Linked DNA regions of Homo sapiens: region 2 is linked to region 1. The links are contacts of gene promoters, found by promoter capture Hi-C in blood cells and fetal thymus (Javierre and others, 2016). All regions are on one chromosome and are shown on one strand. Each heading gives the region's core, a stretch centred on a gene start or on the middle of the fragment in contact. The rest is flanking DNA. Distances are from core to core; before and after follow the strand shown. Region 1 holds the start of MAGEL2 (MAGE family member L2). Region 2 has its middle 27 kb from the start of GABRA5.

The links. Contacts are between HindIII fragments. The CHiCAGO score rates a contact against its expected background, and 5 or more counts as called.
Region 2: a contact is called between a fragment that was not itself captured here and the fragment with the promoter of MAGEL2 in region 1, in 2 of 17 cell types (M0 macrophages and endothelial precursors). The highest score is 7.9, in M0 macrophages.

Annotation. Positions count from the first base shown.
Region 1 is chr15:23,645,303-23,651,713 of GRCh38, forward strand. MAGEL2 (MAGE family member L2) reads right to left here and starts at 2,565. Exons shown (of 1, transcript NM_019066.5): 1 at 1-2,565. The coding sequence starts at 2,440. RefSeq lists an enhancer at 1,008-1,852. The HindIII fragment of the contact is 5,160 bases long and covers 1-3,705 here.
Region 2 is chr15:26,836,547-26,842,957 of GRCh38, forward strand. No RefSeq gene overlaps it. Among named protein-coding and RNA genes, the nearest start is that of GABRA5, 27 kb to the right of the region's middle. The HindIII fragment of the contact is 5,046 bases long and covers 590-5,635 here.

The DNA of each region.
Region 1 (6,411 bases), core at 1,315-3,814:
GGGTCTCTGAGGCAGCAGAGGGGCCTTTAAAGGCATTCAGAGAGGCAGGCTGAAACTGGGAGGTAGCTGGGAAGACACTTGAGGAGGGAGCAAAGGTCTCCGGTGTGGCAGGCAGGTTTTTCCAGGCAGCTGGCAGGTGTGCTCGCGCAGCTGACACTGCCTTGGGAGCACAGAAGGTGGCAGCAAAGATCATGCGGTCTTTTGAAGGGGCCCTGCGCTCCTTCGAGGAGGTCCTGCGCTCTTTAGAGGAGCCCCTGCGGTCTATAGAAGAGGCCCTGCATTCTCCTGATGGAGTCATCAATGATTTAGCGGAGCCCAGGGGAAAATTTGCCGCTGCTACCGGGGGTCCGGGCTGGGCCTGCAAGACTGCAGGCGGTGCCTGCCAGGAAGGCTGGAGCGGCAGTGTGGGCACCTCCGCTTGCGGACCCGATGCCTGGGCCTGCTGGGGGGGTAGCTGGATTTGCACGGCTTTTTGGGAGGGCGGGGCTCCCTGAAAGGGCTGCTCCAGCTGGACCAAGGGGGGAGCCTGCCTCTGGGCCTCCTGGGCAGGCAGGGGCTGCCAGATGTGAGTGGGGGCCTTCTGGGCCTGCCAGGCCAGCGCCTGTGTCTGCTGCACCTCCTGGAATTCCATTGACGTTGGAATCTCGTGTGGCACCGGGGGCTGACCTTTGGGGGCCTGCCAGATGATGGAAGGGCAGTGCACAGCCTGCGGGGCAGACAGTGGGGCAGACAGCGGGGCCGGCAGCACAGGCTGGGGCACCTGCGGGCCAGCGGGCGGCGCCGCGGGTACCTGCGTAGCAGGTGGGGCCGTAGGCACCTGCGGCGCCGCCTGCACCTGCGGGGCCGGCAGCCTAGCCTGCGGGGCCTGCCGCAGTGGAGGTGGGGGTGGCAGGGCCTGCCAGAGCGGTGGCTGGGTGGCCAGGACCTGTGGGGCAGGTCGGATGGGCGGCGGCGCCTGGCGGATCAGCGGCGGGGCCTGGCGGATCACAGGTGGAGCCTGGCGGATCACAGGTGGGGCCTGGCGGATCACAGGTGGGGCCTGGCGGATCACAGCGGGGGCCTGGCGGATCACGGGTGGGGCCTGGCGGATCACGGGTGGGGCCTGGCGGATCACCGGTGGGGCCTGGCGGATCAGCGGTGGGGCCTGTCGCACCGGTGGTGGGCCAGGGCGGATGGGTGGTGGGCCAGGGCGGATGGGCGGGGGCCCCTGGCGCATGGGCGGCGGCACCTGCCAGGTAACGGCTGGTGCCTGCCAGGTGACCTGCGTGGTCTGCCAAGTCAGGGGAGTGGCCTGCCAGCCTTGCTGCGTGGCCTGCCATCCTGGCGAGGTCGCCTGCCAGCCCGGGGGTGTGGCTAGCTGCGCTGGGGGTGCCTGCGGGCCCTGGGGAACCTGCGGAGGAGCCCTTATAACTTGAGACTGGATTTGCAGGATCAGAGGCTGAGCCTGCGGGGCCCAAGAAGCCATCGGCTGTGCAGGTGGGGCCATCGGCTGTGCAGGTGGGGCCGCCGGCTGTGCCATCGGTGCTCCTGAAGCTGGAGGCTGGGTCATCGGAGCTCTCGCACCTGGAGGATGAATCATCAGGACTCCTGGACCTGGAGGCTTGGCCATCGGTGCTCCTGAAGGCTGAGGCTGGGTCATCATGGCTGCTGGAGGCGGCTGGACCATCGGTGCTCCCGGAGCAGCAGGCTGGACCATCAGGACTCCCGGAGTCAGAGGCTGGGCCATCAGGACTCCCGGAGCTGGAGGCTGGGCCATCGGTGTACCCGGAGGGGGAGGATGAGCCATCGGTGTCCCCGGAGGTGGAGGATGAGCCATCGGTGTCCCCGGAGGGGGAGGATGAGCCATCGGTGTCCCCGGAGGGGGAGGATGAGCCATCGGGGTCCCCGGAGGAGGAGGATGCACCATCGGGGTCCCCGGAGGAGGAGGATGGGCCATCGGGGTCCCCGGAGGAGGAGGATGGGCCATTGGGGTCCCCGGAGGGGGAGGGTGGGACATTGGGGTCCCCGGAGGAGGAGGATGGGCCATGGGAGCTCCGGGAGCTGAAGGATGCACCATCAGGACTCCCGGGGTCGGAGGCTGGGCCATCGGGGCTCCCGGAGGTGGAGGATGCACCATCAGGACCCCGGGAGTCGGAGGCTTACCCATCGGGCCCCCCAGCGGGGGAGCCGGGACTATCGGGCCCCCTAGGGCAGGAGGCTGGGTCATCGGAACCACCGGGGCGGGCAGCTGGCCCTGTGGGGCCTCCCAGGCAGGCTGAGGTGCCTGCCAAGCGGCCAATGAAGCCTGCAAGTCAATTGGAGGTGGATCCCAAGGGACTGGCGGAGCCCGGGAGGAAGCGGGCGGGGCCCGCATCAGAACCGTAGGGCGGCTATAGACAGGCGGCTTCGGGGCCTCCGCCGGAGGACTCGAGTCACCCAGATTCTTACTTAGCTGCGACATGTCCCTTTGCTGACAGCTGGTGGGTCTTTTCCTCGGACAGCTGCTGGGCCTTTTCCTCCAGAGAGAAGAGAATGCCTACGTGGCTGTTCAGAGGCTCCCTCCCTGCTGAATGCTGAATAGGAAGTGAGTGCTGCTCGCTCCGCAGCTTTCCGCAGTAAGGAGGAGGGGGGAAGGGGGCTCAATCCCGCCCCTTCCCCGCCCCCGACCACCACAAGTGGATATTGCATAGGGGCGTCTACCGGAGTCCTGGCTGACACAGGATCCCTTCTCACTCTGTCCAGTCCCCAAATGCAGACCAGTCAGACTCCACATGGATGACTTTTCACAGGGGAGTGACAGGAACCCATCCATGTTTTAGAAAAATCACTGTACTGCAGTGTGGAGTGGGAGCAGACCACTGGAAACATGGAAGGTATCCAAGACGGCGGGGGGAGATGGTGTGGTCTGGGCTAAGATGTGAGGCGGAGAATGAAAAAAGCGCATTTACATAAGAGAGTTCCAGGAGTTATAGCAGACAGATACCTGTATTATAATTGAATAAAGGAGTCAAAGACATGGAAAAGGCACACAAGTCCCTGCCTGGAGAAAGTGGGAAGTTGCAGGGACTGTTACTCTCTTAGGGTCCCAGGAGAGGCACACGGGAAGAGAGGCTGATGAGTATTGGCAGACACAGGGCATTTGCGGTGCTGTGGGACTGCCAAGGAGAGATACCCTGTAGGCACTCCTGTATGATGTCTTGGGAGTCCTGCTTGGCTATTCCTCATGAAAATAGAGTTGTGGGAGGGAATGTGGTTGCACTGGGTCTTGAAGAACACAGGCATGTTAGAGACACATGGAGAAAAGGGACAGCAGCGAGTAGAGAGAGAGGAAAAGAAGTCACGGAACTGAGACATGCCACACATCAGTGGAAGACAGCATTTTTAGTATGGGAAAACTGCCTGTGGAATGGCTCGGATGCAGGAACAGAGTAGGTTTCTCAGTATTTTTCATCTGCAGAATGGGAAAGAAATTTAAAAAATGAAAACCAAATAACGCACCTGAAGATAACAAAATGGGTATATAAATAGATCAAAAATTGATATATTTGGATATATAGGAAAAACAGGCAAAGAATAAAAAAATTTCTGGGGAAACTTCTCGTGACAAAAATCAGTTTAAATATGAGACAAATCAAGTATTAACAGATAAAGCAGATGACAATAGTATTATTGGGCAATGCTATACAACTTTATGGTGAGAGGAAGTGATAATCTCAGTAATTGAAAAGCTTTCTGGAAATATACAAAGCACTAAATATCAAGGATGTTTCGTTTAAATAGGCTGTTGGCAGCCTACGGCAGGAGTCCAGAGTGACAAAACGTGCCACCAGGGGGCAGATGAGGACGATGAAGGGTACACCCCACTCCTTCCCAGGTACCCTTAGCCAGGGGTCCTCAAATTTGGTAATTTATGGACCCAAGAGAAGGTATGTACACACTCCCAATGTTATTATTGCCTTAAACAATAATAGAAGAATTTGGGGGTAAAGTTTCAGTGATTTTCTGGACACTTAAGGGATGTTGTTATTCCCAGGAAACTCTTTTCAAAACAGTCAGATTTTTAAGGGTGCTTGATGATACAGTAGCCCCCCCCACCTTACCTGCAGGGGATACATTCCAAAACTCTCGATGCCCGAACCTGGAGACAGCACCAAACCTTATATATACCATGTATCCCTTTCATTCTCCTTCTTCACAATTTCACAGATAGTTTTGTTTTTGCCATATATCTTAGCAATCTCAGCATGCGATTTTTTCTTTCCTTATTAAGTCAAGAACTTTCACCTTTTTCCTTCAAGGAAGCACTTCATAGCTTCCGTTTGGCATACCTAAATTGCCAGGATCACTATTCTTACATTTTGGGGCTATTACTAAGTAAAACAAGGGTTCCTTGAACACAAACACTGGGAAACCGATGGTAGATCTGATATCTGAAGCAGCTACTAAGTGGTTAATGAGCAGGTAGCGAATACAGTAGCACTCCTGTGCCTGCAGTTTCACATTGTGTGGTTTCAGTTACCTGCAATCAAATGCAGTCCAAAAAATTAAATGGAAATTTCCAGAAATAATTTATAAGCTTTAGATTGCATGCCATTCTGAGTAGTATTATGAAATTGTTCTGTTTCGTCCTGCCTGGGGCATGAATTATCCCTTTGTCTAGTGTATCCATGCTGTATATGCTACCCGCCTGTTATTCACTTAGTAGCTGTCTCGGCTATCAGTTGAAAACATCGTAGTACATATAGGATTCAGTACTATTTCCAGTTTCAGGCCTCCACAGGGGGGTCTCAGAATATATCCCCCAAGGATAAGGGTGGACTACTGGACATCACTCCTGTGTATCCCCAGAGAAGGCCATCTACCACAGCACACAAAAAGCTTCTGCAGAATGGATACTACCGTGTTTCATGGTTTTCGTTTCTCCCTTGGGTTAATGGCCCAGATCCACACAGGATTTCTCAGTTTCATGGGGGTTTGGAAACACTGTAGAAGGACAAACTCTAAATGCCTAACCCTCAGGACCTGCTATTATCAACTCTGCTACATGGCTGTTACTGGCTATGGATGGCTTTGGAAAAATCAGTTTATTTTTTAGCCTAGGGCATTTCTAAAGCATACTTTTTTTCCACTCTAATGCAAATGTATAAACTACACAGAGATTAAGTTCTCCCACTAACCGTTTATTTTCGGGAATTATGACAGGTTTGTCCTGCCGTCCACCATGCTGTTGGTCATCCCACACAATGAATGGCTCCCACTAGGGTCTGGCTATTCTCACTGATGTTGGAGGTCAGTGAATAGCACTGACATACAGTGTCAACTCCCACCGAATCTGTTCTATGAAAAGAGGTCCGGTTTATGTTAAGAGGCAACACCAAAGCCAGAAAGAAAAGATTAGGCATTATACAAAGGAAAAAACAGGTGCGTAGGAGTAGTTAGAAATGGAAGATGAATAACTTCTACACCAGCACTATTGCCACTGCTTGGAAACATTCTTTAACCGGCAGGGAAAAATCAGAGATTATGTATCCATTGATTCTATAGGAACAAGTAAAGAGGGTAAACCCAGTTTATTCTCCCTGGAAGAAACATCTGCTTATTTCAGATAGTCAGTGCTCTCAGACCCAGGCTGTTCCTGGGGCTCTCCCTAGCTATTTACAAATTACTTGTGAGCAAAATTCACCTGAGGAAACAGGGACATACGGGTCGTTTTTGAAAACTGACTGCCTTAATCACAGCAAAACATAATATTGCCCTGAGTCTAGTGAGGCATTAGACCACAAGTGTTGGGTCTTCCCAAATCACTCCTGTGAAACCTTCCTGCTTCCTGAAGCCCTCTTTCCCTTTCTGTGCATATGTTCTTCCTCCTCAACACCTTTGAACCAAGTGTTGTCAAAATTCCCTTTCCTCACTTTTATATGAAACAGCTTGAAAATTCAAGGTGAGTAGAAAACAAAAGGGAAAAACATACAAAACATCCATGAAATGTTGGCCTCTGTTCCCTAATTAGAAAGGACTTTTAATGGCTTACGTCAGTATATAACAGCAGTATACAAAATGATTTTTAAAAACAGGGAAGGGAGAACTGAAGTATTGTGATGGGAGTAGGAAAATTGCGGAACTAGGAGCAGACGGGAGCCTGTTTTGCTCACCTTGGTATCCCCAGCTCGCATTGAGTGGTCACTAAGGAGCTACAAAATGAAATGGTAAGATTAGCACCAGAACTGCCTGTCTTCCAATCTTCTGTAGCTGTTAGACTTTGTGTAAATATTCATAAGTGAGTAACAAAATCAGTTATGATTTTCATAAACTCTAAAATTACTTATTTATGAAATACCTTTTATTAAGCATTCACTATATGCCCAGCACTGTGCTATAGATAAGACTACAGAGAAAAATCTGATGCAAGTCCTATTTACATCTATTGTTAGT
Region 2 (6,411 bases), core at 1,863-4,362, 3.2 Mb after region 1:
GATGGGCATAGAGTTGTTGCTATCATTTCTTTGTTATCTTTTTAATGTCTGCAGAGAAGTTGTAATATCCACATGCTTGCTATTGTTGACTATAGTGTTCTATATACACTGATTCAGTCAAGTTGTTGGATAGTATTGTTGAGGTTAGCTAGATCCTTACCAGTTTTCAGCCTACTGTTCTATTATTTCTGAAACACCAGAGGTTCCATCTAGGTCCTGCTGCCCACCGCACAGAAAGCCAATCACTGAGACAACAAGGATTGCCAAGGAAGAAGGCTTTAATTGGGTGCTGCAGCCGAGGAGATGTAAGCTCAGTCTCAAATCCATCTCCCTGACCAAATAAAACTAGGGGTTTGTATAGCAGTGAAGAAATGTAACCATGTGTAAGAAAAAACCTAGGGAGTGGCAAAGACGCAATCATGGTAAATGAGGGTCCTGGCATCTGATGTGGTGATCTGGTGTGTTTCTGTTCTTTTATACTTTTTTGAGAAGACTGATATGGTGAGTTTCAGTTCTTTGATACTTTTTTTAAGAGGCCAGAAGGTCCTTTCCTGGGGAAGGAACGCAGATAAAGCAAATATAACTTTCAAGCTTTAAGACCAAAAGGATACATTTCTATGTGTATTCAAAATGGACAGTCTGTGGGACTATTGGGTTGGTTTCACTGTCAGTTACTGAAAGAGGAATGTTGAAGTCTCAAGTATAATTATGTATGTGTACATTTCCTCTTTAATCCCATCAGTTTTTGCTCCATGTATTTTGTAGCTCTACTGCTAGGTACATAAACATTTTGGATTGTGTGTCTTCCTGGAGACATATTCCCCCTTTATGTATGTCCCTCTTACTAGTATTTTTTTCTATCTCTTCCAACTCATTTTTGTTTTTCCCTCTTGTTTTACCTTTTCTTGGGTTACTTGAGCATTTTGTTACTCATTTAATCTTCTCTATTGACTTTTTTATCTTTTCCATTTTTATAGCTTACCACAGAGTTTTCCATATACATTTTAATTATTCATATGTTCTCTTCATATATCATACCACTTTATAAACAGTGAAAAAATGTACAGTATTTTCCCAATTTATTTCTCATATCCTTTGTGTTATTGTAAATTTTACTTTTTCATAGGCTATAATCATACAATATGCATTTTTCCTTCTTTTGATTTAGGCAGTCAGTAATCTTTTAGAACAATTTGAATAGGAAAAGAATGTAATAAATAATTTTATTTTTACCTTCACTGATTACATTTTAGTGTTCTTTATTCCTTTGTGTATATTAACTTCTATCTGGTATCATCTTTCTCTTCCTGAAGACCTTCCTTAAATTTTCTTCAGGAGAACTGCTGGTAATAAATTCTTACAATTTTTTTTGTCCAACAAAGTCTTTATACCCACTTCATTTTTAATGATACTTTCACTGAATCACAATAGGGGGTTTTGCTTCCTTTCCTTCTTCTAGCACTTTAACAGTGTCACTCTGTTGTCTCTTAGCTGCATGGATTCTGAAGTCAGCCGTAATGCTTATCTTTGTTCCTTTGAATATATCATATTATACTAGTATAAAAGTCATTGCGGTTTTTGCCATTTGAAAATAATGCAAAAACTGCAATGACTTTTGCACCAACCTAATAGTGTATATTTTTTTCCTCCAGCTGCCTTGAAGATTTTCTCTTAGTCTTACACATGTATCACTTTGGCTCTAATATGCCTAGTTGTTTGTTTGTTTCTGTTTTTTCTTGCTTGATGTTCTCTGAACTTAGATCTGTACTTTGGTGTCTTTCATTTATTTTGTAAATAACTTGTCCATTATTTCCTTTGTTCCATTCTTTCCACTTCTCCTTCTGATATTCCAGTTATGACCATGTTCATTTGTCCATTTTCCTGAGAATGGTCCTGCCAAGTTTTGCCACTGTGCACAGGTCTGGTTGTGGGTTATACACATTACCTCTATGCGCAAGTCTGGCTATGGAGTCTCTTGCGTGGCTTCCTCATAGACATAACTAACCTCCTGGTTTCTGTCCCGGTTAGCAATCTTGCCTGGTGTTTCTCCCGCTCTGGGATGCACCTGGCAGTCCCCCTCTGGGATGCACCCGGCAGTCAGCTTCTCCAAGGTTTCCCTCTCTAGGCAGCCAGGTGTTTGCTGCTTCTACTGTTTCATCACTCAAACGTCTTCATCTATTTTGCATTATCTAGATTTTTAAATGTGTGATATATGTTCTCTGATGCCCACGTCTCGTCGTTCAGCTCTTTTGCTGGTACTTAAGGAGTTCTTGGGTCACTCTGCAGGAACACTGGAGCCCGGCGGCCCCACTCTCTTTATTGGCAGCTCTGGCGTCCTTCCATCACCCACTGCGGCGTCTTGGCCACGATCGGACAGTTCTCCTCATGGCCACAAGAGGGCGAAGAGGAGCTCGCCCTGCCCTTCCGAGGAGGCCAGGTCACCCCTCCAGCCTCCTTCAGAAAACTGCGACTCTACCTTCGTGGAAACGGCGCAGAGGGGTGAGATGGAGCGGGAGAGCACGGAGGACGGAGTGGAGACAGGGGCTAGATTATGTAGGGCCTGTGGGGCTCTCAGGTGTCACTGTCATTTTATTCTAAGTGTGAGGAGGACCCATTGAGCTGGGGCTGATGGGATTTCTTTTGTTTGTTTTGTTTTTGTAAAGATCACGCTTGGATTCTCCAAGGAAGAGAGATGGGGCTTGGAGAGGTGTAGGAGGCTGTAGAAGGGCGAGTTAGGGCTCAGCGGAACCCAGCGGGCGGAGACTAGGACTGAGCCCTAGCTCAGACCCTTTGAATGTCAGTTAATTACAATCAAAAGAAGGTGAAAATTTGCAACTTTCATTCATTCTCCAAAAGGACAGTTTTTCCGTATGTGTTCATTTCTCCTTCACCTTCCTTTTTATTTTTTATGTTTTGTTATAATAAATGTCGAATATCAAAGCAATGTATAAAAACAGACACATATGTGAAAGCTCCAATGTTAATGCTTCAAAGTAAGCCTGTGCAATGCACAAAAAATTAAAAGCAGGTCTTTCCCCCTGTTAAGTAACGTGCTGTTTGATATATGCTATCCTTCATTGCAGTGTGCATACATTAGAGATGAAAGCAGACCGAGCTATAACGGTACTAATAATTCTATAATTTAGTGCTTGCTCCCACATTTGGACACGGTAACGTAAAACCTATGGAAACTGACGTATGTTCAATGGGTTTCTCCAGCCAGATATTTTCACTCTTAACCTTTTATTCAACTCTTTTTTACATCTTTCAATGACTTTTTGTGATTCTATTCATTAAAACCTTAGTGTACTTACATTTACTCTAAGGTGTTTTGTCAACTGTGTTTAATGTGAAAGAGATTATCTTTGTATTTTTACATGCTTCTTGATGATTTGTAAGGCTTCACTTAGAACACATGTGGATTAAGTAGCCAGCCACCTTTGTAAACTGTTAAAAACAATTTCTAGTATTTATTGCAGTGTTTGGGCTTTCTCTGTATATAATGACAGCACTTGAAGATGAAAACACACATGCCCTTTCTTTCCTTTCTTGCCCTTTTGCTTTGGAGACAGCATTCTAAATAGTACTAAAAGACAAGGAGGGTAACTTCAACAGAAATACATAAAAATGGTGATTTCATATATGGTTCAAAATTAAATTGAAAAATTGTCAATAAATATGAATAAAATATATAATCCATTTAAAACAATTCTCAGATTGGCTGGATATTTTTCAAACAGCAAAATCCAGCCACATGGTTTACAAGAGACACATCTACCACAGGATACATTGCTTGTGACTCATGTTTACTTACAAAAATGTCTATTTCAACTATGATCCGACTCAATAGAAAGATTAAAAATAGAGAATGCAGAGATATATACTAGAAATAATTACCCTAAAGGAAACTGATGTGGCTGCAGACTTTAAGGCAATCAAAGTAGACTTCTACTTTAAGTAGACTTTAAGGCAAAATAATTACTGGAAATCAAATGGATATTTTAGAATAAAAAAATTATCCAATTTACTGAAAAGATAAACTGTTTGAAATTTGTTTTCATATACCAATGTATTCTTTTAAACTTTTAAAGAAAACATTTATGGAATATGAGGGAAAGCAGATTAATCTACAATAACAATGTAAGAATTTCAGTACACATATCTATTAATAATAGACAAAATATTCGTGAAGCTATAGAAAACTTGAGCGCTATGATTCACAAAATTGACCTTATGAACACATATTGAACACTCTATCCAATAAATGTGAAATACATGCTCTCTGCAAGGTCGGGTGGAATATTTACAAATGTTATTCCATTGTACAGCCTGTCTCAATAAATTTCAAAAGGAGAAAGTAGTGTACTACTTTCCTTAAACATAATGCAATTAATTTCAAAACCAATGGAAAAAGATAAACACAAAATTGCCATTTGCTAGGTAATCAACCCATAGATCAAAGAAGAAATAAGGATTTTTAAAAATCCAAAATGAACTATATTTTTAAAACTACTTTGAACTTGTGGAATACAACTAAAAATTATTTGGAAAAAGTTTATAGCCATAGATGCTTATTTTGGAAGAGAAAAGATGTCCAAAGACTCCTGGAAGGCAGGCAAAGAAAACCAAATTCTCAAAAAATAGAAGACAAGAATAATGAATAAATAAAACAGCAGAGATTAAAGAAAAAGAAAACACACCTATAACAAAGATAATAGAGCCAAAATTCAGTTCTTTGAAAAGACAAAAAATAATGACATCCCTGGTGAAATTCCAACAAGAATGAAAAAAAAAAAACACACTTAATCAATATTAGGAATAAAACATGAGCACCACTACACAAATCACAAAAATAATAAGAGGATATTGTGAAAATCTTTGTTCTAATATTCTTTGACAATGTAGATAAAATGATCACTTTCGGACAAAAATAAATCTTACCAAGACAGACCCAAAAAAGAACAGAGAAAGTCTAGCAGCAAAAATATGGTTGCAACATAGGTTTATTGATTATTGTTTGTTTGTTCCTTTTATGTCTGAGGGTACAGTGGTGAAAGCAAAGCAAGCAAGTAGGGTAGCCGAGGTGACCGTTGGGGCTGACAGCATCTTCAGCAGAACCAGGTGAGAAAGAGTCCCCGTGAGGCCCATGGTAGAGGAAGGCACAGGCAAGCACTGGAGAGCTGCGAGTCTCCGTGGGACCAGCAGCTACTCTGCAGTGGCAGGGAAGATGGAAGCATCGCCTGGCCCTAGGAGTCCTGGAAGGAAAACGAAATACTCACTCGCCCACCACCGCCTCAATAAGAAAACTGTAGGCTGCGCAAAAATCTAAAGGAATGAATCCTAGAAAAACCAGAACAGCCCCAAAGGCTTCCCTCAGTTAGAAGTAAGTTTAACGGATAGGTGAACATTAAACGGGAAACCCACATCACTTGGCATGCCAGGAAGAGCAAACAAACACTTTCTCTCCAAAGGACAAGGATCCACCTGAAAGAAAAACGAATGGCAACAAAACCTAAAGTGGGCATCCTGGGATCCTAGGAAAAAGAAGGCCCCGAGATCGGGGCAGGGGCAGGGGCTGCAGGCGGCCCTACAGAGCCGGTAAAGGTGAAGGCGGTGCTCTGCGGTGGGAACGGGAAGCTTCCCCAATCAGACTGCATCCTGAGGGACAGGAGCGGACACACGAGGGTATTTTTAATAGTTTGAGACAGTTGTCCTTTTAAAAGGGTGTCCTTGAGCCATGAGTTGAAAGGGACCCTGGACAGTCGCTGCTGTCACAGAGTTGTCCTGATAAAAAACAAAAAAGGATTACAAAACACGTACTTGGAAAAATGTTTAAATTCCAACAAATATTGAAACCTACCGGGGAAAAAAATGTGATGAAAAGAAACCTAAAGATGAAAACTGCAGCTGGTGCTGTGAGCCCCCCTCTCTCATGTTCAGGGCATGCCAGCCCACTCCTGGCGTCTGCTCGGCATTGCCGGGGCATTTTCTGTGGCTGCGTCCCTAGAGACACTGGGTCCGCCTTAGAAGTAAACCCTCCTGGAGCGCCCCTCCCCCAGTGGTGGGGGCTGCTGAGCACCTAGCTGGAGTACCCTTCCCCCGGTGGTGGGGGCTGCTGAGTACCCAGCTGGAGCACCCTTCCCCCGGTGGTGGGGGTTGCTGAGTACCCAGCTGGAGCACTCTTCCCCCGGTGGTGGGGGCTGCTGAGTACCCAGCTGGAGCACCCTTCCCCCGGTGGTGGGGGCTGCTGAGTACCCAGCTGGAGCACCCTTCCCCCGGTGGTGGGGGCTGCTGAGCACCCAGCTGGAGCACCCTTCCCCCGGTGGTGGGGGCTGCTGAGCACCTAGCTGGAGCACCCTTCCCCCGGTGGTGGGGGTTGCTGAGTACCCAGCTGGAGCGCCCCTCCCCCGG